Linked DNA regions of Homo sapiens: regions 1, 2, 3 and 5 are each linked to region 4. Evidence: promoter capture Hi-C in 16 types of primary human blood cells and fetal thymus (Javierre and others, 2016). All regions are on one chromosome and are shown on one strand. The core of a region is centred on a gene start or on the middle of the fragment in contact, and the rest is flanking DNA. Distances in the headings are between cores, read along the strand shown. Region 1 has its middle 7.6 kb from the start of RB1CC1. Region 2 has its middle 74 kb from the start of RB1CC1. Region 3 has its middle 21 kb from the start of NPBWR1. Region 4 holds the start of MRPL15 (mitochondrial ribosomal protein L15). Region 5 overlaps NPBWR1 (neuropeptides B and W receptor 1).

Region 1 (4,923 bases), core at 1,987-4,486, 1.4 Mb before region 4:
TAGAGGCTGCTGGCACTATGATGATTAAGTTAATGTTTTCAGTACTGCTTATAGACCTGAAAGCTGCCCTTCTCAGCTGGTTTGTGGGTACTCAAACATACTAATAATGATGATGGCTAACTTAGGAATGACCATCTTCAAAGCTAGTGATGACTTGATGAGCTCATAAGCAACACTGTTTCCAATGCTGCAGCAACATAGTCAAGAAAACACTTCTAGAATGCTTAATTTCCTGAAAGATTTAAACCAATAGATTAAGACAAAACATTTGTAGTCATTTTTCAGATTGAAAGAGATATCTTTTTGCATCATGTTTTATTAGGTTCTTGTCTTTCATTATTTTGAAGAGCTGCCTAGCAAAGTGTCCAAAAATAGAGCTGGCACTGTTTATAAAATGCCTTAAGGCAGAAGTTAATCAGTCATGTAGACACAGATACAGAACTGATTCAAATGTCAAGTGGTAGTTGGACTTCAGGTGGTGACTTTCTAACTTTTACTGTGATCCACATTAAGAAATACAGTTTCACATTGTGACCTGGTATACATACACAGGAAAAAGTACTTGCTGCTTGTGATATACTCTGATACCTTCTATTGTTTTTTTTTCCTCTTGCTAGTCTTACACATTACATCGATTTTACTATCATCCAATGGTTTCAGAGATATTAGATTCAATGACTTAGGCCCCAAACCTTGAGATTCTTTGTTCCTGATTTTTCTGTCAGTGCCTTCCTATTTCTGTCAGTGCCTCAGTAGTGTTTATAAATAAATGCTTCTTTTTTTTTTTTTTTGAGATGGGAGTTTCACTCTCGTTGCGGAGGCTGGAGTGCAATGGCGCAATCTCAGCTCACTGCAACCTCTGCCTCCCGGGTTCAAGTGATTTTCCTGCCTCAGCCTCCCGAGTAGCTGGGATTACAGGCATGCACCACCACACCTGGCTAATTTTGTATTTTTAGTAGAGACGGGGTTTCTCCATGTTGGTCAGGCTGGTCTCGAACTCCTGACCTCAGGTGATCTGCCCTCCTTGGCCTCCCAAAGTGCTGGGATTACAGGCGTGAGCCACCGCGGCTGGTCAATAAATGTATTTTTTAAAAAGCATGACCTAACGGAGCTCATGAAACACTTATGGGTGTATCTTAGATGCCAGACATGGGTTTTAAATTTATCAACCTGTTTAGTTGTCTTAGCAGCCCTATGCAGTTTCTGTAAATTTTCTTTGATTTTACAGATGGGGCAATAAGGCATGGAGTGGTTAAGTTGCTAATTCAATGTACTTCCTTCTAGTTAGTGTTCTTAAATTAGTAACTGTCAAGGCCAGGATTTGAACCCAGGTAATCCAATTGTACGGGCTATATCCTATATATCCTATGCATAGCCTATGCTCCCCCTTAATTTGGTGCTGGTCCTGCAGGGGTTAAAAAAAATTGGCTCAGCAAGGTGGCTCCCAGCTTACACCAGTAATCCCAGCACTTGGGGAGGCCAAGGCAGGTGGATAGCCCTGAGTTCAGAAGTTCTAGACCTGCCTGGACAATGTGGCAAAACCCCATCTCTACCAAGAATACAAAAAAAAAAAAAAATTAGCCAGGCATGTGGTGGCATACGCCTGTAGTTCCAGCCACTTGGGAAGCTGAGGTGGGAAGATTGCTTGAGCCTGGGAGGCAGAGGTTGCAGTGAGCTAAGATTGCACTGCTGCATTCCAGCCTGGGCAACAGGGTGAGACCCTGTCTCAAAAACAAAAAAAGAAAAAATGTCTAGCAATAGGTTACAGAGTTTCTCAATCTCATACCTACCAGTTAATTCTTTGTTATAAGGGGCTGTCCTGTACATTTTAGGATGTTGAACCTCCTTGGCTTCTGCCCACTAGATGCCAGTAGCACCCCAGTTATGACAATCAAAAATGCCTCTGGACATTTTGTAATGTTCCCAGAGGGACAAAATCAACCCCTTTCTCAGAATTCAGGGAAAACGTGGTACATCTATATAATGAAATACTATGCAGCCATTAATATTATATTTTAGAAGAATATTTAAAACAGGCCTGGCATGGTGGCTCACACCTGTAATCTCAGCACTCTGGTAGGCTGAGGTAGGAGAATCACTTGAGGCCAGGAGTTTGAGACCAGCTTGGACAACATAGCGAAACCCTGTCTCTACAAAAATAAAAGTAAAAATATAGACCAGGCGCGGTGGCTCACGCCTGTAATCCCAGCACTTTGGGAGGCCGAGGCGGGTGGATCACGAGGTCAGGAGATCGAGACCATCCTGGCTAACATGGTGAAACCCTGTCTCTACTAAAAGTACAAAAATAAGTTAGCCGGGCGTGCTCGGGAGGCTGAGGCAGGAGGATGGCGTGAACCTAGGAGGCGGAGCTTGCAGTGAGCCGAGATCGCACCACTGCACTCCAGCCTGGGCGACAGAGAGAATAAAAAAAATAAAAATAAAAATAAAATAAAAATATAGCTCTGTGTGGTGGTGCACTCCTCTAGTCTCAGCTACTTGGGAGGCTGAGGTGGGAGGATTGCTCGAGCCAAGGAGTTTAAAGCTACAGTGAACCATGACCACACCACTGTACTCCATCCTGGGCAACAAAGTGAGACCCTATTCTAAAAAAATTGTAAAAATATGTATATTAATTTTTTTTTTGTTTTGAGATAGGGTCTCACTCTCTCACCCAGGCTGTAATGCATTGGCACACCCACGGCTTGTTGCAGCCTCAACCTCCCAGGCTCAAGCAATCCTTCCACCTCACTGTCCCTAATAGCTGTAACTACAGATGCCCACCACCATGCCTGGCAAATTTTTGTATTTTTTGTAGAGACAGGGTTTCACCATGTTGCCCAGGCTGGTCTCAAACTCCTGGGTTCAGGCTCTCCTTTCACCTTAGCCTCCCAAAGTGTTGGGATTACAGGCGTGAACCACTCTGCCCAACCAAAAAATATTTAAAGACAAAGGAAAACAAAGTAGCAAGCTACTCTGTTTTACTATGTTTCGTATTTTAACATCTCTGAAATCTGGGTCCATTTAACAGTGGATGGATAGTGGTCCTCCAAGCTTGTCAACCAATGCCATCCATTTCCTGTGCTTACTATAAGACATCAAAAACACCAGATTGGAAAAAAATCCAAACTATAATGGTGAGAGAATTGATGAATAAGATGTGTTGTACAACATTCCCAAAGACAGCTAGGTACCTAGCACCACAGCTTTAGTTCTTTTATGGATTCTGTAAGGAAATGCTTGTTGCCAGTGCTTTCAGTGCTGCAAAGGATAAATTCTGTGGAAAAACCCAGACAATCTCTGAGTCGGAAGTAATAGTTCAAAAGTGATGAAATTTTAGAAATACCTTTACCAATGTAATTTGCTTGTATTTTCATTTTTATGTATGGGCAATATAATAAAAATGTGTCTAATGAAGTCTAAGAAAGCTTTCTAAGTAAGTACAAAATTAAATTCTAAGTGATTTTTCCTATGTGTATATTTTTCTTCATTTTCCAGACTACATATTTTTGAAAAATGTACCATTAGTCTTTTGTAACTTAAAACGAGTTCTGTTGTTTATCATATAAAATGAATGCTTTTTTCCCAATTCTCTGAAGTCCATTTATTTTAATAACACCATTTGTTTTTTTGCCTTCTTCCTCAAATGATCCCTTTGTTTTAATCAACCCTACCTGCTATCCATTCATGCAAAATACTTTTCCCAATAGTCATTCCTTTTCAGTATGATGTATTAAAAGGACCACTGAACTGAATGTCTGGAAACGTGGGTTCCAATTCTACCTCAGCCTTCTGTGTTGTTTCCCTAGTAGTTCACTCTTCCTACTCTCCATCAGATTGTCTGCACTATTCTTGAATCCCTAATTCCCACCCCTTCCCAGTTCTCTCTTTGGTAAATAATCTCACCTCCTACAACACTGAGGAAATAGAAGCCATGAGAAAAGAACTTCCTCTTCTGCCCTGAAATCTGCAAACCTATTTGCATCCACAAATTCTCTCCAACAGTCACTATTCTGTCCCTTCTATTTAAGGTAGTCGTGGGTTTTTGACTCCATCTCATTTTACCATCTCATTCTGTCATTCTGTGGAACCACTTACTAAGTACAAAATTTAGTTCATGTGTGACATACCTTACAAAACTTAAATATCTTTAAAATTGAAATTTATCCGGTTTCATTGTTTATTCATTTAAAATTAAAAATCAAGAAGTAAAACACTCTATCATCAATATGATTTAGTAGAAACAAATTATATCTTGTAGATGTTATTGAAATTCACTTATTAGTTGCTGGACAATTGTTTACATAAAATGACTTTTTAACAAAGGGTCAAAGTTAAAACTCCTAGGCAGATCTCAAAACTATCAAGTAGTATAGATTTTTTCTTTTTGGTTTTGTAATATTTGTGTGGCTTTTTTTTTTTTAACTTTTAAATTTTGACTGCCTTGATTAAAGTTTCAGTTAAAAAATTTTGCTGTCAATTTCTTTTCTAACCATTACTATTATTGTTGTTCTATTGTTACTGAAACTATAGAGGAATGGGATGTTAAAAAATTATCTACTCTGAGTGTCAAATACACTTCACCACTGGCAGGGCTCAGGGCTCTTCATTTTTTAATAAGTTCTAGGGGGAATTCTAATACAAGGAATGGCTTTGAGAAACAAGACTAAATTTTTAAAAATCCTCACAGTCCTGCTCAATCTTCTTTCTGTCAATAGATGTCGCCCCTCCCTTGAAATAAGCTCCTCAGAAAAATCCTAATCTACACACAAAGCTTTCTATGTGTTTGTATGCTTATTATGGATTAATTTGAACTCATATAATTCTCAGATGTGCCTTAATTTTTAAAATATGTGTATATAGTTTATACACATACATCATAAGTTGGCTGCATTAAGGAGTTGGAAAATCTGGGACTTCATTTGG
Region 2 (4,891 bases), core at 1,409-3,908, 1.3 Mb before region 4:
ATAAGATGATGGAGTGAATGTATTCCTGTAGAACATTATTTGCACAGGTAACCATGGAAATAATATTTATTTTGTCTAAATTAGTCACATGAGGGCAAACCGTTTCCTTATCTGCACTCTCTTTTTCTTTTTAAAATGAGTTCAAGGCAATTTAGATGAGTGGGGACTAATGGGAAGGACCTTTGTGAAATCAGAAAGCTTGGATTTCTCTCTTCATTTTACCTCTGACTGATCGTGACACCATAAGTAAGACATATAATAGTTTCATTAGAAGACCCTGTTGAGAAAGGCAAGAGCAGGGAGCCATTTAGTGTGTGAGGTACCTGCTGGTTGAAAAAGTTATGGGGCTAAAAATAATCTCAACATGATGACTCTGTTGAAATTAGGCACCCAGGCAAATAAGCTGGCCATTGACCAACCCAGGAGACTGCCATTTTCCCACTGCCTATGCAAAGATCAGACAGGATAAATAGTCCTGGAAAAACCACAGTCCTGGTGAGGGGGTGAGTGTGGGGGGTTGACAAGTATATGGTTTCAAAATGACCATAAAGATGGAAGCATGATCTATAATTCTCATGATGCCTCTTAATGAGTTTGAATAGAGAGCACATAGGTGAAAAAATAAACTATGCAAATATAAAGAGGGGTGACTGGTTGGAAACATGATTGGCAATGCCAAATATGGCCAAAGATTTGAAAGATGTAGACAATCCCAGGTGAATGCTTATAATGTTATTCATATAGTGCTATATTAATTCTAAATGTATAGGAAGTATAATTATTCATTTTCTTCATATTTTTATCATAGGAAGCTTCTAGCAGAGAAGTTGAAAGAATTTTACAGTATATACCTATATATGCACAACCTAGATTTTACAATTAATATTTTACTATAGTTACTTTATTGCATGGCTATCAGTCTGTCCATCCCTTTCTCATCCATCAACTCATCTTGGCTTTTTATTCATTTCAAAGTAAATTGCAGACATCAGTACACTTCCCCTTATAATCGATAGTGTTTCAGTTCTTTATTTATTTTATTTTTTGAGATGGAGTCTTACTTGTTGCCCAGGCTGGAGTGCAGTGGCGTGATCTCAGCTCACTGTAGCCTCCACCTTCTGGGTTCAAGATCCTCCTGCCTCAGCCTCCTGAATAGCTGGGATTACAAGCGCACGCCACTGTGCCTGGCTAATTTTTGTATTTTTTGTCTCAAAAATAATAATAATAAGGAGTCAGAGACAATTTTAATAAGGATTATTAAATGGAAAAGTAATTTATTACCAGATATTTAGAGTCTTCTTCCCTCCCCTTGTGTGCAGTCTCACTGCATAGCTTATTATCTAGAATATAGTATGTGTACTATTAAATATCTGTTCAACTGAATGTCAGTAATCTTTGGGGTCTTAACCTGTTTGGGCAGAAAGACATTAGCTGGATGACCATTCCAGATTCTTGACTAGCTTGGCATTCTGATTTTAACATTTAACTCAATTTCACAGTCATTTGATCTTTTAAAAAGTTTAGAATGTTTTCATGAGCCTGCCTGCCTGGAGGGCCCTCTTCCCCCCAGTGCAGTTCACAAAACATCTGCGCCAAAGTGCTTCGTGCATATGGAATTGACTACTACTGCTTCGGGGCTGGGACAGGGTTGAATGCGATAGCCATCATTTTAACAAACTGCTACACAAAACAGCACTACAAAGGGAGTATTGATTGGATCCTCTATCTGCCTCCCCCAGCACTGCTCAAAGTTGAATGTTTCCATTGACTTTCTAATTGTTCCTTCCCCCCCAACTTTATTCTAAAGGCTAAACTTTAGAATAATACTTTAATACTAAGGAAAATTTAGTATAGTCTGGACCTGTCATGCATCCTGTTCAAGGGAAGGAGGGGAAGTAAATGGGTGGCAAGTGGAAGAAGGACAATCTAATTGGACACTTACTAGATGCCAGGGATTTTCTTTTCTTTTCTTTTCTTTTTTTTTTTTTTTTTTTTTTGTGACACAGTCTGGCTCTGACGCCCAGGCTGGAGTTCAGTGGTGCAATCTCGGCTCACTACAACCTCCACCTCCTGGGTTCAAGTGATTCTCCTGCCTCAACCTCCTGAGTAGCTGGGATTACAGGCATCTACCACAAACCATACCTGGCTAATTTTTGTATTTTTAGTAGAGACAACGTTTCACCATGTTGGCCATGCCGGTCTTGAACTCCTGACCTCAAGTGATTTGCCCGCCACAGCCTCCCAAAGTGCTGGGATTACAGGTGTGAACCACCACACCTGGCCTGGGATTTTCATATATTCTGTATTTTATATACTAAATATTTATTTAACACTCATTATGTGCAGAAATTTTCATATACTATATATAGCATTTGTCTCATTCGATCTCCAGAGGAACATTGTCATCCTAAAACCCATTTTCCACGCAAAGTAGAAACTGATGTTCAAATAAATGAATTTGAATTTAAATCTGAGCTTGGTTGACTTCAAAAATCCAAGCAGTCTCCATTCCCTCACCCTACCTAAAGGAGTTCTGCTAACAAAAGGACCTCGTTTTGTCACCGGGGGTCCTGGATACCCCAAAAAGGGCTCTTTCCTGTTCAGTGTTGTGAAGATAATACAAAAAGCCGAAAGTGTCAAGCAGTGCAGGCTTTATTCTAAGGCCAAGGAATTGGAGAAGTGGGACCGTAGCTTGCAAATCAATTTCTCAGTTTCTGAGAACCAGGAAATTACAAATTCAGGGTATCTTCACTGAAGGGGTTGGGCATTAAGAGCAAGGGGAGGAACATTCATGGTTTTTTTGGGAAGCAATGAAGATTTTCCTAGAACAGGGAGCTGCCTTTTTTGTCCTTTCTTGGTCTTTTCTGGTTATTGTCATAGTGATTGTCAGCTGTCATGGTGCTGGTGGGAGTGTCACTTAGCATAGAAATTGGATTATAATGAAGCTAGAGGTTCTTCAGAGGTCAAGTAGGCGGCCATACTGGGTTTCACCAGTTTCAGCCAGTTTAGTTCTAAGAAGGAACTAATGACCACAGGCATCCTGCTTCCTAAAAATAAGCAGAGTTAAAGCCCAGTAGGAATTTAGCTATGTCATGTAGGCATTACATTGGGCAACAAAAGCAGAGAGGGGGCCCAGCTAAGCCACCTAGGCACTACAATGGGTGACAATTTTATAGTATTATAGAAAAGATTCTCTGTCTGATTTCTTCCACGTTTACAGAACTCCAGATTTACTTTCAGGAGTCAAAGCACCGGGGAAAGATTCAACTTCCTTCAGAGATTTTGGAAACAGAGTTAAGGGATCATTTCTCCTGCCTCTCACTCCTACATCTTCTTTCTTAGCTGCCTCCTAACTCCATTGGGTATAGGAGATCTGGGTTAGTGACAAAGGATGAAAAATGAAAAAAGGATGCCAAACAATAGCAATTTTCAGGGTAGCAAGAATGCCATTTTGGTAGGCAGCTTCTATGTCTCCTGTGCAATGATTGCTGCTGGCCAGGATCACCCAGCCAGGAGGGTAAATTGGCAGTGTGTTTCTGCCTCCTGCCCAGAAGGTGCCCATTGTCTTCATGCTGGTCCTTGGCACCCTGGAACATCCCCCATCCCTGCACTGCAGTGTCCCAATTCGGCTTACTCAGTGTGGCTGGCACCCATCATCCCAAATTATTTCTCTCTGCTCAGCTACAGAATTATCATTTCTATTTCCAACTAGCAACAGCTTGTCACCCATCAGAGATATATTTCCATCTAAACAAAGCTCTTATCCTGCCAGTCCTTTGCATAAAAATGTTCAGTGTTTTCCTGTTGTAGTTAGAATGAACCCAAACTCCTTGCCATGGCCTGTGAAACCCGTGATCTGGCCCAGCTCTCCTATTTCATGTCCTATTACTCTACTCCTTGCTCGTGGGACCCAGACACCATTCTTGCTTTTCTAAGACACTCCAAATGCATTTTTATTCTCATTTGCTGTAACCTACTTCTTTCCCATCATGCAGGGTGCTTGCTCATTCGGAATCTCAGAGGGGTCTCTGTTAACCCTTCAACCTTGAATAGCTTCCTCCCCACCCACAGAGGCCTCTCTTTTATCATCACCTTTTCTATTTTTTCAAAGAGAGTTTCACAGTTAGAAATCATGCTTTAGATGGATTTGTTCATTTTGTTTTCTGACTCCACTGAAATATCTGCTCCATTTGCAAGGGGCCATCTCTACCTGTTTTTCACTATACTCCTTGTGTGTAGAACATTGTGTACTCAATAAATGTTGTTCAAATGAAGGCAATTTATGAGCACTAAGGGTTGGCTGACCATCATAGCAGAATTCTACCTACCATGGCAAGCAGGTAAAGGAAAGGTTTTGCATGGAAATGGGAGGAAGGAGGTAGGGATTAGGTCCTACACTCTCCCTAAGATTTTCCCACATTATTGGCACACATAAGTCAAAAACAAATACAGGCAGTCCTTGTTGTGCTTGGTTTCAGTAGGCGTGAATATCAGTTACCATAGTTAAGCTTAATAAGCCAGGCTTCTAACAACACAGTTAAAATTTCAATTGTTACCATGATACATTAATTTGTGAGTAATTTTATAAAGTACTGACATCACTGCCAGGAATCAGTTCACAGATCATTAAATGAATAACGTGCTCATCCTGGTCAGTGACCGATCACATCACTCCTCACCTCTCTGCCATAAGTGAAACCCCCCTGTGGAACTATGGTCCCTATAGCTCTCTCAGGAACATCATTCACTGTGGTTCAGCAGGACTGCTGACATTCTCCCAGAGTGGACTCCAGGCCAAGCTTTCATGAACTTTCCTCTATTTTTTCAGCTGTGAAGTAGAGAGATGTAGAGATGTAGAGGTTGAAGACAGGTGGGCTCTGATGTGTGTGGG
Region 3 (5,060 bases), core at 1,443-3,942, 1.2 Mb before region 4:
GTGCAGATATCAGGAGAAAGTTCCAAAAGTAAGCCCTGGGCCCTGAAAAAAATCTGGAGGCATTTTAAAACCTGGCAACCTTGGTGTTCTATAATAGGGACCAAGAGAAATAGGCCCAAAAGGAAAAACAAGATCAGAGAAAGGCCACAGCCTTGGTCATGGCCCTCAGACAAACAAACCTTGGTGGTTCAGGGAGGACAGAAAATGGAGCAGGCCAATCACCTGGTAGGGCTTGTTATCAGTGTGGTTTACTAGGACACCTTAAAAAAGATTGTCCAATGAGAAACAAGCTGCCCCCCTCGTCCATGTCCACTATGCTGAGGCAATCACTGGAAGGTGCGCTGCCCCAGAGGATGAGGGTTCTCTGGGTCAGAAGTCCCCAACCAGATGATCCAACAACAGGACTGAGGGTGCCCAGGGCAAGCACCAGCTCATATCTTCACCCTCTCTGAGCCCCGGGTACCTTTAACCATTAACGGCCAGGAAATTGACTTCCTCCTGGACACTGGCATAGCCTTCTCAGTGTTAATCTCCTGTCCTGGACAACTGTCCTCAAGGTCTGTTACCATCTGAGGAATCCTGGGACAGCCTGTAACCACGTATTTCTCCCACCTCCTCCGTTGTATTTGGGGGACTTTGCCCTTTTCACATGCCTTTCTTGTTATGCCTGAAAGTCCCACACCCTTATTAGGGAAGGATATATTAGCTAAGGCTGAGCTATTATCTACATGAATATGGGGAACAAGTTACCCATTTGTTGTCCCCTACTTGAAGAGGGAATCAACCCTGAAGTCTGGGCTTTGGAAGGACAATTTGGAAGGGCAAAAAATGCCCACCCAGTCCAAATCAGGTTAAAAGATCCCACCGCTTTTCCTTATCAAAGGCAATATCCCTTAAGGTCTGAAGCTCATAAAGGATTACAGAATATTGTTAAACATTTGAAAGCTCAAGGCTTAGTAAGGAAATGCAGCAGTCCCTGCAACACCCCAATTCTAGGAATACAAAACCTGAATGGTCAGTGGAGACTAGTGCAAGATCTTAGACTCATCAATGAGGCAGTAATTCCTCTACATCGAGTTATACCCAACCCCTATACCCTGCTCTCTCAGATACCAGAGGAAGCAGAATGGTTCACAGTTCTGGACCTCAAGGATTCCTTCTGTATTCCCCTGCACTCTGACTCCCAGTTTCTCTTTGCCTTTGAGGATCCCACAGACCAAACATCCCAACTTATGTGGACGGTCTTGCCCCAAGGGTTTAGGGATAGCCCTCATCTGTTTGATCAGGCACTGGCCCAAGATCTAGGCCACTTCTCAAGTCCAGGCAGTCTGGTCCTTCAGTATGTGGATGATTTACTTTTGGCTACCAGTTCGGAAGCCTCCTGCCAGCAGGCTACTCTAGATCTCTTGAACTTTCTAGCTAATCAAGGGTATAAGGTGTCTAGGTCAAAGGCCCAGCTTTGCCTACAGCAGGCCAAATATCTAGGCTTAATCTTAGCCAGCAGGACCAGGGCCATCAGCAAGGAATGAATACAGCCTATACTGGCTTATCTTCACCCTAAGACATTAAAACAGTTGTGGGGGTTCCTTGGAAGTACCGGCTTTTCCCTACTATGGATCCTCGGATACAGCGAGATAGCCACACCCCTCTATACTGTAATCAAGGAAACCCAGAGGGCAAATACTCATCTAGTAGAATGGGAACCAGAGGCAGAAACAGCCTTCAAAACCTTAAAGCAGGCCCTAGTACAAGATCCAGCTTTAAGCCTTCTTACAGGACAAAACTTTTCTTTATATGTCACAGAGAGAGCAGGGATAGCTCTTGGAGTCCTTACTCAGACTCGTGGGACAACTCCACAACCAGTGGCACAACTAAGTAAGGAAATTGATGTAGTAGCAAAAGGCTGGCCTCACTGTTTATGGGTAGTTGCAGCAGTGGCCATCTTAGTGTCAGAGGCTATCAAAATGATACAAGGAAAGGATCTCACTGTCTGTACTACTCATGATGTAAATGGCATACTAGTTGCCAAAGGAAGTTTATGGAGTTTATGGCTATCAGACAACCACCTACTTAGATACCAGGCGCTACTCCTTGAGGGACTGGTGCTTCAAATACACACATGCGTGGCCCTCAACCCTGCCACTTTTCTCCCAGAGGATGGGGAACCAATTGAGCATGAGTGCCAACAAATTATACTCCAGACTTATGCCACCTGAGATGATCTCTTAAAAGTCCCCTTAGCTAATCCTGACCTTAACCTATATACTGATGGAAGTTCATTTGTAGAGAATGGGATACGAAGGACAGGTTATGCCATAGTTAGTGATGTAACCATACTTGAATGTAAGCCTCTTCCCCCAGGGACCAGTGCCCAGTTAGCGGAACTAGTGACACTTTCCGGAGCCTCAGAACTGGGAAAGGGAAAAAGAATAAGTGTGTATACAGACAGCAAGTATGCTTATCTAATCCTACATGTCCATGCTGAATATAGAAAGAAAGGGAGTTCCTGACTTCTGGGGGAACCCCCATTGAGCATCAAAAGGAAACTACGGAGTTATTGCACGTAATGCAAAAATCCAAGGAGGTGGCAGTCTTACACTGCCAAAGCCATCAAAGAGGGGAAGGAGAGGGGAGAACAGCAGCATGAGCAGCTGGTGGAGGCAGCAGAAAGGAAAGAGACAGAAAGTCAAAGAGAGAGAGAGGAAGAAACAGAGAGAAAGAAAAGGAGAGAGAGAGAGAGACAGACACAGAAAGTCAAAGAGAAAGTCAAAGAGAAAGTCAAGGAGAGAGTCAAAAAGAGAGAAAGAGACAAAGAAGAAGTCAAAGAGAAAGAAAGAGAAATGGAAGTAGTAAAGAAAAAAACAGTGTACCCTATTCCTTTAAAAGTCAGGGTAAATTTCTGTCTACCCAGACAAGGCATATTGTTCTTATGTGGAACACTGACTTATATCTGCCTCCCCACTAACTGGACCGACACCTGCACCTTAGTCTTTCTAAGTCACAACATTAACATTGCCCCAGGAAATCAAACCCTATCAGTACCCCTCAAAGCTCAAGTCTGTCAGCGAAGAGCCATACTACTAATACCCTTACTTATAGGGTTAGGAATGGCTACTGCTACAGGAAACAGAATAGCTGGTTTATCTACTTCATTATCCTACACACTCTGAAAGGATTTCTCAGACAGTTTGCAAGAAATAAAAAAACTATCCTTACTTTACAATCCCAAATAGACTCTTCGGCAGCAGTGACTCTCCAAAACTGCTGAGGCCTAGACCTCCTCACTGCTGAGAAAGGAGGACTCTGCACCTTCTTAGGGGAAGAGTGTTGTTTTTACACTAACCAGTCGGAGATAGTACAAGATGCCACCCGGCATTTACAGGAAAAGGCTTCTGAAATCAGGCAACGCCTTTCAAATTCTTATACCAACCTCTGGAGCTGGGCAACGTGGCTTCTCCCCTTTCTAGGTCCCGTGGCAGCCATCTTGCTGTTACTCACCTTTGGACCCTGTATTTTTAACCTTCTTGTCAAATTTGTTTCCTCTAGAATTGAGGTCATCAACTTACAGATGGTCTTACAAATGGAACCCCAAATGAGTTCAACTAACGACTTCTACCGAGGACCCTGGACTGACTCGTGGGCACTTTCACTGCCCTAGAGAGTTCCCCTCTGGAGAACACTACAACTACAGGGCCCCTTCATCACCCCATCCAACAGGAATTAGCTAGAGTGGTCATCGGCCAAATTCCCAACAGTAGTTGGGGTGTCCTGTTTAGAGGGTGGATTGAGAGGTGACAGCATGCTGGCAGCCCTCGCTCACTCTTGGTGCCTCCTTGGCCTTGGTGCCCACTCTGGCCACACTTGAGGAGCCCTTCAGCCCACCGCTGCACTGTGGGATCTACTCTCTGGACTGGCAGAGGCTGGAGCCGTCTCCCTCTGCTTGCGGGGATGTGTGGAGTGAGAGTTGTGGGTGATACTGGGGCTGTGCACAGCGCTTTTTGGCCAGTGCGAGTTCTGGGTGGGCATGGGCTCGGCAGGCCCCGCACTCAGAGCGGCCGGCCGGTGCCACTGGCCCCAGGCAGTGAGAGGCTTAGCACTCAGGCCAGCAGCTGCAGAGGGTCCACCAGGTCCCCCAGCAGTGTGGGCCTGCCGGCTCAGCTGCCTCCCCGCAGGGCAGGGCTCGGGACCTGCAGCCCATCATCCACAAGCCTCCCCCCTGCTGTGGGCTCCTGCAGGGCCGAGCCTCCCTGACGATCACTGCACCCTGCTCCATGGCACGCAGTCCCATCAACCGTCCAAGGGCTGAGGAATGTGGGCACAAGGCACGGGACTGGCGGGCAGCTCTGCCTGCGGCCCTGGTGCGGGATCCACTAGGTGAAGCCAGCTGGGCTCCTGAGTCTAGTGGGGACTTGGAGAACTTTTATATCTAGCTAAGGGATTGTAAACACACCAATCAGCACCCTGTGTCTAGCTCAAGGTTTTTAAATGCACCAATCAGTGCTCTGTGTCTAGCTAATCTAGTGGGGACTTGGAGAACTTTTGTGTCTAGCTCAGGGACTATAAACGCATCAATCAGCACCCTGTCAAAACAGACCAATCAGCTTTCTGTAAAATGGACCAATCAAGAGGATGTGGGTGGGGCCAGATAAGGGAATAAAAGTAGGCTGCCCGAGCCAGCAGTGGCAACCTGTTCAGGTCCCCTTCCACACTGTGGAAGTTTTGTTCTTTTGCTCTTAGCAATAAATCTTACTACTGCCCCGTCTTTGGGTCCACACAGCTTTTATGGGCTGTAACACTCACCGTGAAGGTCTGCAGCTTCACTCCTGAGGCCAGCGAGACCATGAACCCACCAGGAGGAATAAACGACTCCGGATGGGAGGAACAAACAACTCCAGACATGCCACCTTAAGAGCTGTAACACTCACTGCGAAGGTCTGCAGCTCCACTCCTGAAGCCAGCGAGACCACGAACCCACCAGAAGGAAGAAACTCCGAACACGTCTGAACGTCAGAAGGAAGAAACTCTGGACACACCATCTTTAAGACCTGTAGCACACACCA
Region 4 (5,378 bases), core at 1,579-4,078:
GGTATGCACTACCACTCCCAGCTAATTTTGTATTTTTATTAGAGATGGCGTTTCTCCATGTTGGTCAGGCTGGTCTCGAACTCCCAGCCTCAGGTGATCCGCCTGCCTTAGCTTCCCAAAGTGCTGGGATTACAGGCGTGAGCCACTGCGCCCGGCTTCATTGTTATTATGTAATGATTCAGCAGTTATTATCAACTGGGGTTGGAATCAGGATGGACCTTAAATAGTTGTTGAGATATTAATGTTTTTATTACAAGTTCTTGTTAACTTGATTTAAACAGGATTTAGCACATCCCAAGCATGTAGGTGGGTAATAAATATGACTTGTGCAATTATGAGGATGACATAAAACTACTATATACTTAAGGTAAGGATTGTTGACTTATTGACCACACACCCTTAATTTACATTCTTACAACACAAACGAAACTCATCAAATTATTTTGACAGTTTTATATGCTTAATCAACATGTTGGATATGGGATAAACAAACACGTAGCCTACAATTAACTGTCAACAATTGTTATTCCCATTATTATTAACTGATGTCCACCAATAACATTATATAACCCATACGACTTCTACTTCCAAGAAGTGCAGCATATTTCTTGTATTTTATTTATTCAATAAAAAAATTTTCCATGATAAAAAACATTACTGGCATTAACACTTAATCAAGAAGTTCATTACTTAATGCAAACAATGATTTTTTGGGGATTGAAAATAATTGTGCACTTTTCTGTAGATTAGGGTACAGTTTGCAATTATATTTTGCAATTTTCTTCCCAAAGGTAGGAAAGTTTAATAAAAACACAATGAAAACTACTGAATTAAAAATCACTAAAGGCAGGCTGGACTCAGTGGCTCACACCTGTAATCCCAGCACTTTGGGAGGCCAAGGCAGGTGGATCATTTGAGGTTAGGAGTTTCAGACAAGCCTGGCCAACGTGGTGAAACCCAGTCTCTACTAAAAAACCAACCAAACAAACAAACTAAAAAAGCTGTACGTTGTGGTGCATGCCTGTAATCTCAGCTACTGGGGAGGCTGAGGCAGGAGAATCGCTTGAACCTGGGTGAGGAGCCTGCAGTGAGCCGAGATGGCGCTACTGCACTCCAGCCTGGGCGACAGAGTGAGATTCCATTTCAAACAAACAAACCAAAAATCATTAAAGGCAGAAAATAGGTTCTATTGCCCCCCACACCCCATTCTATTTCTTCTGTGCTTCTAAATAGAGTCTAGACTTTACCATCATATCATTTTATCGAACTCACATATTTTGTTTTTGCTAATTAGTCTACAAGAGGCCTACTTTTATCTTTAACTTTTAAAAAACATTCACGGGCCAGGCGCCGTGGCTCACGCCTGTAATCCCAGCACTTTGGGAGGCCGAGGCAGGGGGATCACCTGAGGCCAGGAGTTGGAGACCAGCCTGGCCAACATGGCGAAAACCCGTCTCTACTAAACATACAAAAAAAAATTAGCGGGGCGTGCTGGTGAACGCCTGTAATCCCAGCTACTCAGGAGGCGGAGGCGGAAGAATTGCTTGAACCAGAGAGGCAGAGGTTGCAGTGAGCTGAGATTGAACCATTGCACTCTAGCCTAAGCAACAGAGCGAGACTCTGTCTCAAAATAATAATAATAATAATTCACTTTTGGAAACTGTTCCCTACTAGATTTCAAACAACTTGGGAATGAAATCCTATTTGAGTTCATCCATGTGTATTTCCAACAAGTTCAGTGTCTTACTTATAAATAGTACTTGAAGGAATGAATACAACTTTTTCTTTATGTAGTTATTTTACACTTGATTTAAAGGAACTTTAAAAAGACGCAGTTATACCTAGAGACAGACGCCCTCCAAAAATTGTCTCACCTTCATTATTTGTGATTACTAGTTAGAGCTAGCAGAAAAAACTCCCCAGCAAGTGAAATGTCAAACCACTACTAAAAGAAAGAAAAAGAAAGGAACAGTCTTTTCTATATTTAAGTCACTTGAGAGAAAAAAGAAGAGCTGGTATTTTTCGAGTAATAATGTTCGTATTTTGTGATGCAGATACTCAATTTTACATTCTAAAAATACTACTTTTATAGTAGGAAGCAGTGTACGTTTGAATCCTGGCTCTGCCGCTTGTTGCAAGAAGTTGGTCAAGCTATCGGACCTTGCTAAGCCTTCCCTGTTGTAACTGTAAAATGTAGTAACACCATTTACCTCTAGAATGGCTGTAAATCGAGTAAGGCTTATTTAATACAGCGTCTGGCATACACCAGGCATTCAGTATGGCGCCAGTCATTAACAATAGGTGGTTACTAACTGCGATTCACTCAAAACAATACAGATGCACACGGATGAGAGTTCACACTTTGAGTCTTATTCAAAGATTGGTTATTAGCCAGGCATTTTGATAGGTGCACTCAGTTTTATTTTCGTACCTCACGGTGTATAATTACGCAAGCTCAAAAGCTAATAATTGACAGCTCACTTTGCTTTACTCTGGGTTCTGCATTGACCTCAGAGAAGACACGGCCTAGACAAACAGGCAAGGCCCAACACTGACTCAAAAAAGATCCTTTATTTAACGCAGTGTTTTTAGTGCATGCTCTCGTTTGGCGAAAGAGAAGGTTTTACGTTCAGAATATTAAAAGGGACCCCGAGGACAAAGCAGGATCTCGGAAAATAAGATCACATCCCCAAACAACTAAAAGGACAACCGAGACAAGGTTGCAGACTCCCACGCCTCTGCCCGACTCCCGGGCTTGCGCGCGCGGCTGCAGCGCGACAGGGGCGGGGCCACGGCCACAAAGCAGCCCCCGAGACCACGTGGCCTCCGAGCAGCTCAGGGCGCCCTTGAAAGTTCTTGGATCTGCGGGTTATGGCCGGTCCCTTGCAGGGCGGTGGGGCCCGGGCCCTGGACCTACTCCGGGGCCTGCCGCGTGTGAGCCTGGCCAACTTAAAGCCGAATCCCGGCTCCAAGAAACCGGTAAATGGGTGGTGGCGGTGCGGGGAAGCGCTGGGGACCCGGGCGATGAAAGCGGCCCTTCTCTCCCTGTCATTAGGAGAACTGCCCTTTCTAGGAGAGTGTTGGGATGAAAATAGGATTGCCTCATGCCTGTTCTCCCTTACTGCCCAGAGGGGAATCTTTCCACGTGCACCCAGTTCTTTTTTTTTTTTTTTTTTTTTTTTCCGAGACGGAGGCTTGCTCTGTCGCCCAGAAGCAATTCTCCTGCCTCAGCCTCCCGATTAGCTGGGATTACAGGCGCCCGCCATCACGCCCGGCTAATTTTTGTATTTTTAGTAGAGACGTGGTTTCACCGTGTTGGCCAGGCTGGTTTTGAACTCCTGAGCTCGCGATCCGCCTGCCTCGGCCTCCCAAAGTGCTGGGATTACAGGCGTGAGCCACCGCCCCCGGCCGCACCCAGTTCTTAATAAGGTTATGTTTACAAGTGTAAAGATACCAGGCGGAGAAGCCGACTCGCTGAAACTACAAAGTCTTTGTGTCATTCAAAATTGGATTTAAAATGAAATGTTTTCCCGGTGTATCTTTATGTTCATTGGAAAGATCTGAATTGCAGCTGTCCCTTCTGCAGTTGACTAAATAGAGCTAGAAAAGCTGTTAGTTGACAATGTACTGTCATTTTAACAGTCAGTTCATTGCTTTCGTGAAATGACAGGAAATTAAGGAAAAGATTTTCTTCAACAGATCAGTTTTCAAATAAAATTACAGGTTTATGAATAACATTTGCATATTTACAATTAATTTCAGAATAAATTCTTGCCTATCATTTAAAATGTTGTGAATATTTAATTCTAGGATTTTTTTCGGTTTCAACCTATTATAAAAACCTTATCCCCATCCTAACCTTTACTTTTTGCTTTTGAAACACACTTGGACTTTGGTTACAAGAATTAGCTATGTCTTTAGAGGCAAAGATGCTAACAGAGTGTGTGGAGCTTTGAGCAACTAGGACATGCTTGACACAATAGTGTTAGCTAGCACTGGTGGGCTGGATGAATGAACAGCATAACAAAAAGTGAAGAGCTGAAATGCAGTTTTTAGAAATGCATCTGAAATTCATAAAATTCTTTTTTTTCCTTGCAGGAGAGAAGACCAAGAGGTCGGAGAAGAGGTAGAAAATGTGGCAGAGGCCATAAAGGAGAAAGGCAAAGAGGAACCCGGCCCCGCTTGGGCTTTGAGGGAGGCCAGACTCCATTTTACATCCGAATCCCAAAATACGGGTTTAACGAAGGACATAGGTAAGGTTGCTTTGCTTTTTAAAGTACAGGTCCCCAATTTCCATTAAAAAGCACCTAAAAATAGTTTGGTAGAAATTTTGGTGGAAATTGTAAATTCACTTTGAAGCAAACTTTTGCTACTGTTCCCCTGAACCATTTTTTGGTAATGAAATCTTGCCTGGATTATTAAAAGGAAAAGAGGCCCAGACACTGCACTTAGACCTGCAAAATGGAGATTCTAATGCCAGCTCTAATGGTTATTAAAAGAGTGAGCAATAATAGACAGTATACATAAAAATCTGGCCCACTGTAGTCACCTAATAAATGATAACTACCATTATTACTTTGAGCTCCATAGTAAGTTAAATTTTCCACAGATTTATTTGTGTAAATAAGTGAAGTAAATGCTTAGAGAGGGAAATAATTTTTAGTGGAACAAAGGTGGTACAGGTTTGTTTTCATTACCCAAAATCAAGCAGTATTACATGTTTGTGTTACACTCAAGAGGGTTTTGTTTAGTTAAATAAAATTGGTGGAGGAAAACACAAGACAAAGCTTTGAGTTGATTTCGAGAAGTTACAGGAAGATGAGAGTTTTCCAACTCTTACATTCTTGTTTTACAGTTTCAGACGCCAGTATAAGCCTTTGAGTCTCAATAGACTGCAGTATCTTATTGATTTGGGTCGTGTTGATCCTAGTCAACCTATTGACTTAACCCAGCTTGTCAATGGGAGAGGTGTGACCATCCAGCCACTTAAAAGGGATTATGGTGTCCAGCTGGTTGAGGAGGTAAGTCTTGATTAGATCTTTTGGTGTTATATAGGAGGATTTTTTTTTTAGACAGAGTCTTGCCCTGTTGCCTGAGCTGGAGTACAGTGGCGCAATCTCGGCTCCTGCAACCTCCACCTCACAAGTTCAAGTGATTCTCCTGCCTCAGCCTCCTGAATAGCTGGGATTACAGGCACCCACCACCATGCCCAGCTAATTTTATTTGTTTTTAGTAGAGACAGGGTTTCACTATGTTGGCCAGGCTGATCTTGAACTCCTGACCTTAAGTGATCTGCTCACCTCGGCCTCCCAAAGTGCTGGAATTACAGGTGTGAGCCACCATGCCTGGCCCGTAGGAGATATTTTTGATTTCCAGAT
Region 5 (5,106 bases), core at 997-3,496, 1.2 Mb before region 4:
CTGGCCATCGCCGACGAGCTCTTCACGCTGGTGCTGCCCATCAACATCGCCGACTTCCTGCTGCGGCAGTGGCCCTTCGGGGAGCTCATGTGCAAGCTCATCGTGGCTATCGACCAGTACAACACCTTCTCCAGCCTCTACTTCCTCACCGTCATGAGCGCCGACCGCTACCTGGTGGTGTTGGCCACTGCGGAGTCGCGCCGGGTGGCCGGCCGCACCTACAGCGCCGCGCGCGCGGTGAGCCTGGCCGTGTGGGGGATCGTCACACTCGTCGTGCTGCCCTTCGCAGTCTTCGCCCGGCTAGACGACGAGCAGGGCCGGCGCCAGTGCGTGCTAGTCTTTCCGCAGCCCGAGGCCTTCTGGTGGCGCGCGAGCCGCCTCTACACGCTCGTGCTGGGCTTCGCCATCCCCGTGTCCACCATCTGTGTCCTCTATACCACCCTGCTGTGCCGGCTGCATGCCATGCGGCTGGACAGCCACGCCAAGGCCCTGGAGCGCGCCAAGAAGCGGGTGACCTTCCTGGTGGTGGCAATCCTGGCGGTGTGCCTCCTCTGCTGGACGCCCTACCACCTGAGCACCGTGGTGGCGCTCACCACCGACCTCCCGCAGACGCCGCTGGTCATCGCTATCTCCTACTTCATCACCAGCCTGAGCTACGCCAACAGCTGCCTCAACCCCTTCCTCTACGCCTTCCTGGACGCCAGCTTCCGCAGGAACCTCCGCCAGCTGATAACTTGCCGCGCGGCAGCCTGACTCCCCCAGCGTCCGGCTCCGCAACTGCCCGCCACTCCTGGCCAGCGAGGGAGGAGCCGGCGCCAGAGTGCGGGACCAGACAGGCCGCCTAGGCCTCCTGGGGAAACCGACTCGCGCCCCATACCCGACCTAGCAGATCGGAAGCGCTGCGACTGTGCCCGCAGGTTGACCTTGCCAAGCCCTCCAGGTGATGCGCGGCCATGCCGGGTGAGGAGAACTGAGGCTGAGATCGCCACACTGAGGGCTCCCTAAAGCCGAGGTGGAGGAAGAGGAGGGTAGAGGAGGAGGGCGGTATTGCTGGGAACCGCCCCCTCCCTGCCCTGCTCCCTGCTGCCCCACCCGAGCCCTGGCAGTCTGGAACCTGGCTGGAGTCGGAACTCTCCGCGCCTTCGAAGGGAGGCCCGAGGACGCTGCCGGCGCCCCCAGGCGTCGGCTCCGCGCGGCCCCTGCTGTAGCTGGCGCACAGCCCCGGCGGGTCCCCTTGTCCTCCGCGCGCTCTGGGAAGACGGTCAGGCGCGCGCGTTTGGCGCCCACCCCTGTGAGACCCGCTTGGCCTGGCGCCGCGGGCGGGGACCGCTGCCGAGGCCGCCAGCGCCTCTTCAACTGGGGAAAACACAACAACTCGGGATGCCCCATCGGAGTGTGTATACACCTGTGTGTGTGTGTGTGTGGTGTGCGCGCGTTTGCGGAGGCATGAAATGCGGGGAAAGAGGCTGGCGCTTGGCAGTGACTGCCTAGAATATGATACGAATAGTGATCCTTCTTTCTGTCTGCCCCTACTCCTTTTCTTTGCCTTTTCCCTTTCCTATCCGTGATCTCCCCTGAAAATGTCAGACTCCCGGAGCAAGGAACCCGGAGTAGCCCGGGCGCGCGGTTCCGGCGCCCCCTGGAGGAGCCAGCGGCCGAGTGCTTAGCGTCGGAGGATCGCGGGGCTTTGTGGTGGAGCACTCCGGCTGAGCGCGCTTCACAGCGCTGTGGCACACTGGTCATCGTTGCTTATAGAGGATGCCAAGCCCCACCCCCATTCCCCCAATTGGCCTCGTCTCTTGTCTTACTTAGATCAGTTTGTTGTAACTGTTCATGTGTGTACTGTTTTTCAGGACTGAAAACTTTATAAATAATGTACATGTCCTAATCTCACGAGTTGCCATGAAGATCAAATAAGATAAAAAGAAATGCGATCTATTCTCTTGTGTTCCCTTTCTCCTCTGCTTCCTTGGCTCCGCCTTAGGGAGAGCAGGAAGCAGGGATGACCGACGGCTTCAGGTTTTCTCTGCTGTACTTTTCACAGGGAGCTGTGGATTACCTGGGCTTTATTCCTTACTTGTAGACGGCATCCGGTAGGTAGTCCCGGTAAACCGGGTAAATACTGGTCCTGGAGTCACCAGGGAGATTGGCCAGCATCCTACCTGTGTTTTTGTCTCTGCATATGGAAGACAAAGTGGATTAAGAGAGAGGACTGGCATTGGGTTTGCCCAATCCTCTGCAGTTTAGCCTTAGACATGAGGGCCGAACCCTAAGCAAAGTCTGGTAATTGATTATGGTGTTTTAAAAGGTATTAATCTTTAGGATGAAGTCCAAACAGGATGAAAATTTCTACAAATGTTTGTTTCCTATGTCATGTGTGAGAAAAAAAAATGTGAGTGTTGCAGCACATTTTGTTTGCTTAGTTTGGCATCTTCAATCAATTTCTCAATTATTTAGGTTGAAAATAGCTTTTAATAAATATTTGGAAGGAAAAAACTCCCCCTTGGAATGGGGGGAAGCAAACCCCCTCTCTAATTTTGGTGAATAAGAATTGCTTTCTTAGCTCTCAGAGTTTTTAGGAACATTGAAATAATTCATAGCCATCAGTTTAGAAAATATACATTAAAAAACCTTCTGTCTTGGGTGGCAAATAATAGTAAATTGTTTAAAAGAAAGTTTTCATCTACAATGAGTTTCGAGTGGTGGACCTCATGGCATTTGAACAGGCCTCTCTCTGCTGGCCGGCTTCGGAGGCTTCTTGGAATTCATTTTAATATCTTTCGAATTTCTAGGAAACATTCTATTGATTTTCCTTAAACTCTCAAAATTATCTCATGAATCCTCTGTAACTTTTCAAAATTAAAGTTTTAAACTTAGAGTAACTTCTAGATTACCTAAGGTGATGGACAAAGAGTAAGGTGAACATTTGGCTACAAACACAGCTGGAGTGATTGTCTGGATTCAGTATCTCATCTGTCTTAATAAGCTCAGTAACTGGACTCAGATGGGGGACAGCTGAGTGATCCATCTGTCCACTGTTTCATCCCTACAGTAGATTGACCTCGAGCCTTCTTGGAATCTATGGAGATGACTGCTGGAAAAATACACGGGCTGACATTGCTGTTCATCCCCAGCAAGGCATGGACTGGCTTCTGAGTATGCCTGTGGGATTAATCAGGTCTCAGCAGTTGAGTTCCTCCTGGGCTTTCTGATCACTGGATAAACTGTTGTATCATTATTTCTAGGTCGTTGCCCTTCATACGAGCATGTAGACTGTATATCTCAGGCTTCCTTTTTATGTCTTGGGTAATCGGTTGAATAAATACACACATAAGCCAGGCAAAAGTAGAATTTATTCACATCATTGTATTGCAAAGGTTTTAACACTGTGTTGAATTCTTGCAGTTTCTGTGTAAACTCTATGGTTTGGTTTTACCACTTTGAATAGTTAAAAATGTCTATTTGCTTTTACTTAATTTAGTGCAGTTATGTAATGTGTATGCTTATGTTTTCTCTTGACAAACGCAGAAACTCTGTAGTCCATTGTAGAGGAGCTCAGTTTAAAATAAAAGCTGAAACATTCTGTGTGATAAGTGAACATTCTATTTTCTGAGAACAAGTTATCCACAATTAAGTCACCTTAGCATTTGTGCAGTGTTACTATTTAAAAATACTGCCTTCATTGGAAAAGTGATCCAATGAATACTCAATGAATAAATAGAAGTATTTGACAGGACAAAATTAAGAATGAACACCCCCACCCCTTAATTTGGTTGATTGTGAAAATGATGCAAAGCTGCTGATAAACACAGAGATTCCAGAACTTATGCTGGGCAGAGAAAGGATGCTAAACTTCTATCATACCATCAAAAGCCTCATTTCTTAAATATTTGAGCAGCTATGTGGAGGGGGAGAAGGGAAGAGAAATTGCTTCAATTATTAGTATACACATTGCTATCAGCAATATGCATAGACATAGCACAAATATGCAAGGTGGAGAATCTCACCTGAAAAACTCACGAACTTATTATAAACCCTTCTTTCCTCAGCAACATGCTGGGAAAACAACAGCAAGACAAAAAAACAGTAAACTCTCCTTGGATATTAATCATCTATGCTTATGCACATTAAGAAAGAGATCAGAGAATTCTGCCCATAATGGTCTTTTATTAGCACAGCTTTGGGTCTGGCACTTCGGCCCCCATTTTACATACAAAGAAAGTGAGATACAAGGAAGTGGATCAATTTAGCCAGGCCCACAAAGATCAGTGAAGACCAATCAGAGCCACCCAGTTCCCATTCTATTCTAGGAATTGTGTCATCTTGTTTCAGCAGAGATGGAATTCGTTGCAATGTGTAATTTGGAAATATTAGACTAGAAAACAATGATGTCTTTTAAATATTTAGTAGATTAAGCAAGCTGTATCTACCATTAGCTCATACGAGATAAAGGGAGGGTAAGATTTAATATTATAAAACTTCAATCTTAATTCAGAGACTTACAAAGTGTATGGGATTGTTGAAAGTTATATGAGAATAAAAATTCCTAACAGAGCTGTCACACAAAGGCACCATGTGCATAGCAGCCTCCACGCTTTATGTACGTGGAACTGTGCCCCAGAGGGACTATTCATATAGGAGACAATGCTAATGATGGCTGTACTCTGTAGAATGGAGCTTTGCAATGGATGATGCTGTCCTTGAATTTAGGGCAAGGGAAATGTATTTGTTTATACCATATCTCATAAGGTTACATTGGTGACATCATGTTAAATAAAAATAAAAGATGGAAAAAGGGAAGGAAATTTAAAATGATATTGCTCAGAAACTGTCAGAATGCATGAACTGCATGCTTCCCACAGTCCAGAAGATTTCTCTTGGGCCTGGGGGGCAATAGTGCACACAGACCTGATGCTCTGTTGGGCCAAGACCCAGGGAGCGGCTCACCATCTTCCTGTAAAATCTGGATCTTCTCATATTGTTCGACCAGAAGGTTAACTCACCCCCATTCTGAGGTAACCCAAGGGCCAGAGTCACAACTGCAATAACCAGGCCACCGTTTACCACGGAAAGAGTGGGTGTTTGCATAGTCAAAAATGTGGGAGA

What was found. The method cuts DNA at HindIII sites, captures the fragments that hold promoters and counts their contacts. A CHiCAGO score of 5 or more calls a contact.
Region 1: a contact is called between a fragment that was not itself captured here and the fragment with the promoter of MRPL15 in region 4, in 9 of 17 cell types (non-activated CD4 T cells, total CD8 T cells, naive CD8 T cells and 6 more). The highest score is 11.3, in non-activated CD4 T cells.
Region 2: a contact is called between a fragment that was not itself captured here and the fragment with the promoter of MRPL15 in region 4, in 1 of 17 cell types (naive CD8 T cells). The highest score is 5.4, in naive CD8 T cells.
Region 3: a contact is called between a fragment that was not itself captured here and the fragment with the promoter of MRPL15 in region 4, in 2 of 17 cell types (naive CD8 T cells and non-activated CD4 T cells). The highest score is 6.1, in naive CD8 T cells.
Region 5: a fragment that was not itself captured here is called in contact with the fragment with the promoter of MRPL15 in region 4 in 3 of 17 cell types (naive CD8 T cells, naive CD4 T cells and total CD4 T cells); the score reaches 5.5 in naive CD8 T cells.

What each region holds. Positions count from the first base shown.
Region 1 is chr8:52,719,556-52,724,478 of GRCh38, forward strand. No RefSeq gene overlaps it. Among named protein-coding and RNA genes, the nearest start is that of RB1CC1, 7.6 kb to the left of the region's middle. The HindIII fragment of the contact is 374 bases long and covers 3,050-3,423 here.
Region 2 is chr8:52,785,777-52,790,667 of GRCh38, forward strand. No RefSeq gene overlaps it. Among named protein-coding and RNA genes, the nearest start is that of RB1CC1, 74 kb to the left of the region's middle. The HindIII fragment of the contact is 3,696 bases long and covers 811-4,506 here.
Region 3 is chr8:52,957,437-52,962,496 of GRCh38, forward strand. No RefSeq gene overlaps it. Among named protein-coding and RNA genes, the nearest start is that of NPBWR1, 21 kb to the left of the region's middle. The HindIII fragment of the contact is 6,943 bases long and covers 1-5,060 here.
Region 4 is chr8:54,132,413-54,137,790 of GRCh38, forward strand. It overlaps MRPL15 (mitochondrial ribosomal protein L15), which reads left to right and starts at 2,829. Exons shown (of 5, transcript NM_014175.4): 1 at 2,829-2,979; 2 at 4,099-4,253; 3 at 4,856-5,021. The coding sequence starts at 2,872. The HindIII fragment of the contact is 13,913 bases long and covers 1-4,785 here.
Region 5 is chr8:52,940,142-52,945,247 of GRCh38, forward strand. It overlaps NPBWR1 (neuropeptides B and W receptor 1), which reads left to right. Exons shown (of 2, transcript NM_005285.5): 2 at 1-3,593. The coding sequence ends at 753. Among named protein-coding and RNA genes, the nearest start is that of NPBWR1, 3.5 kb to the left of the region's middle. RefSeq lists an enhancer at 1-479. The HindIII fragment of the contact is 5,917 bases long and covers 1-5,106 here.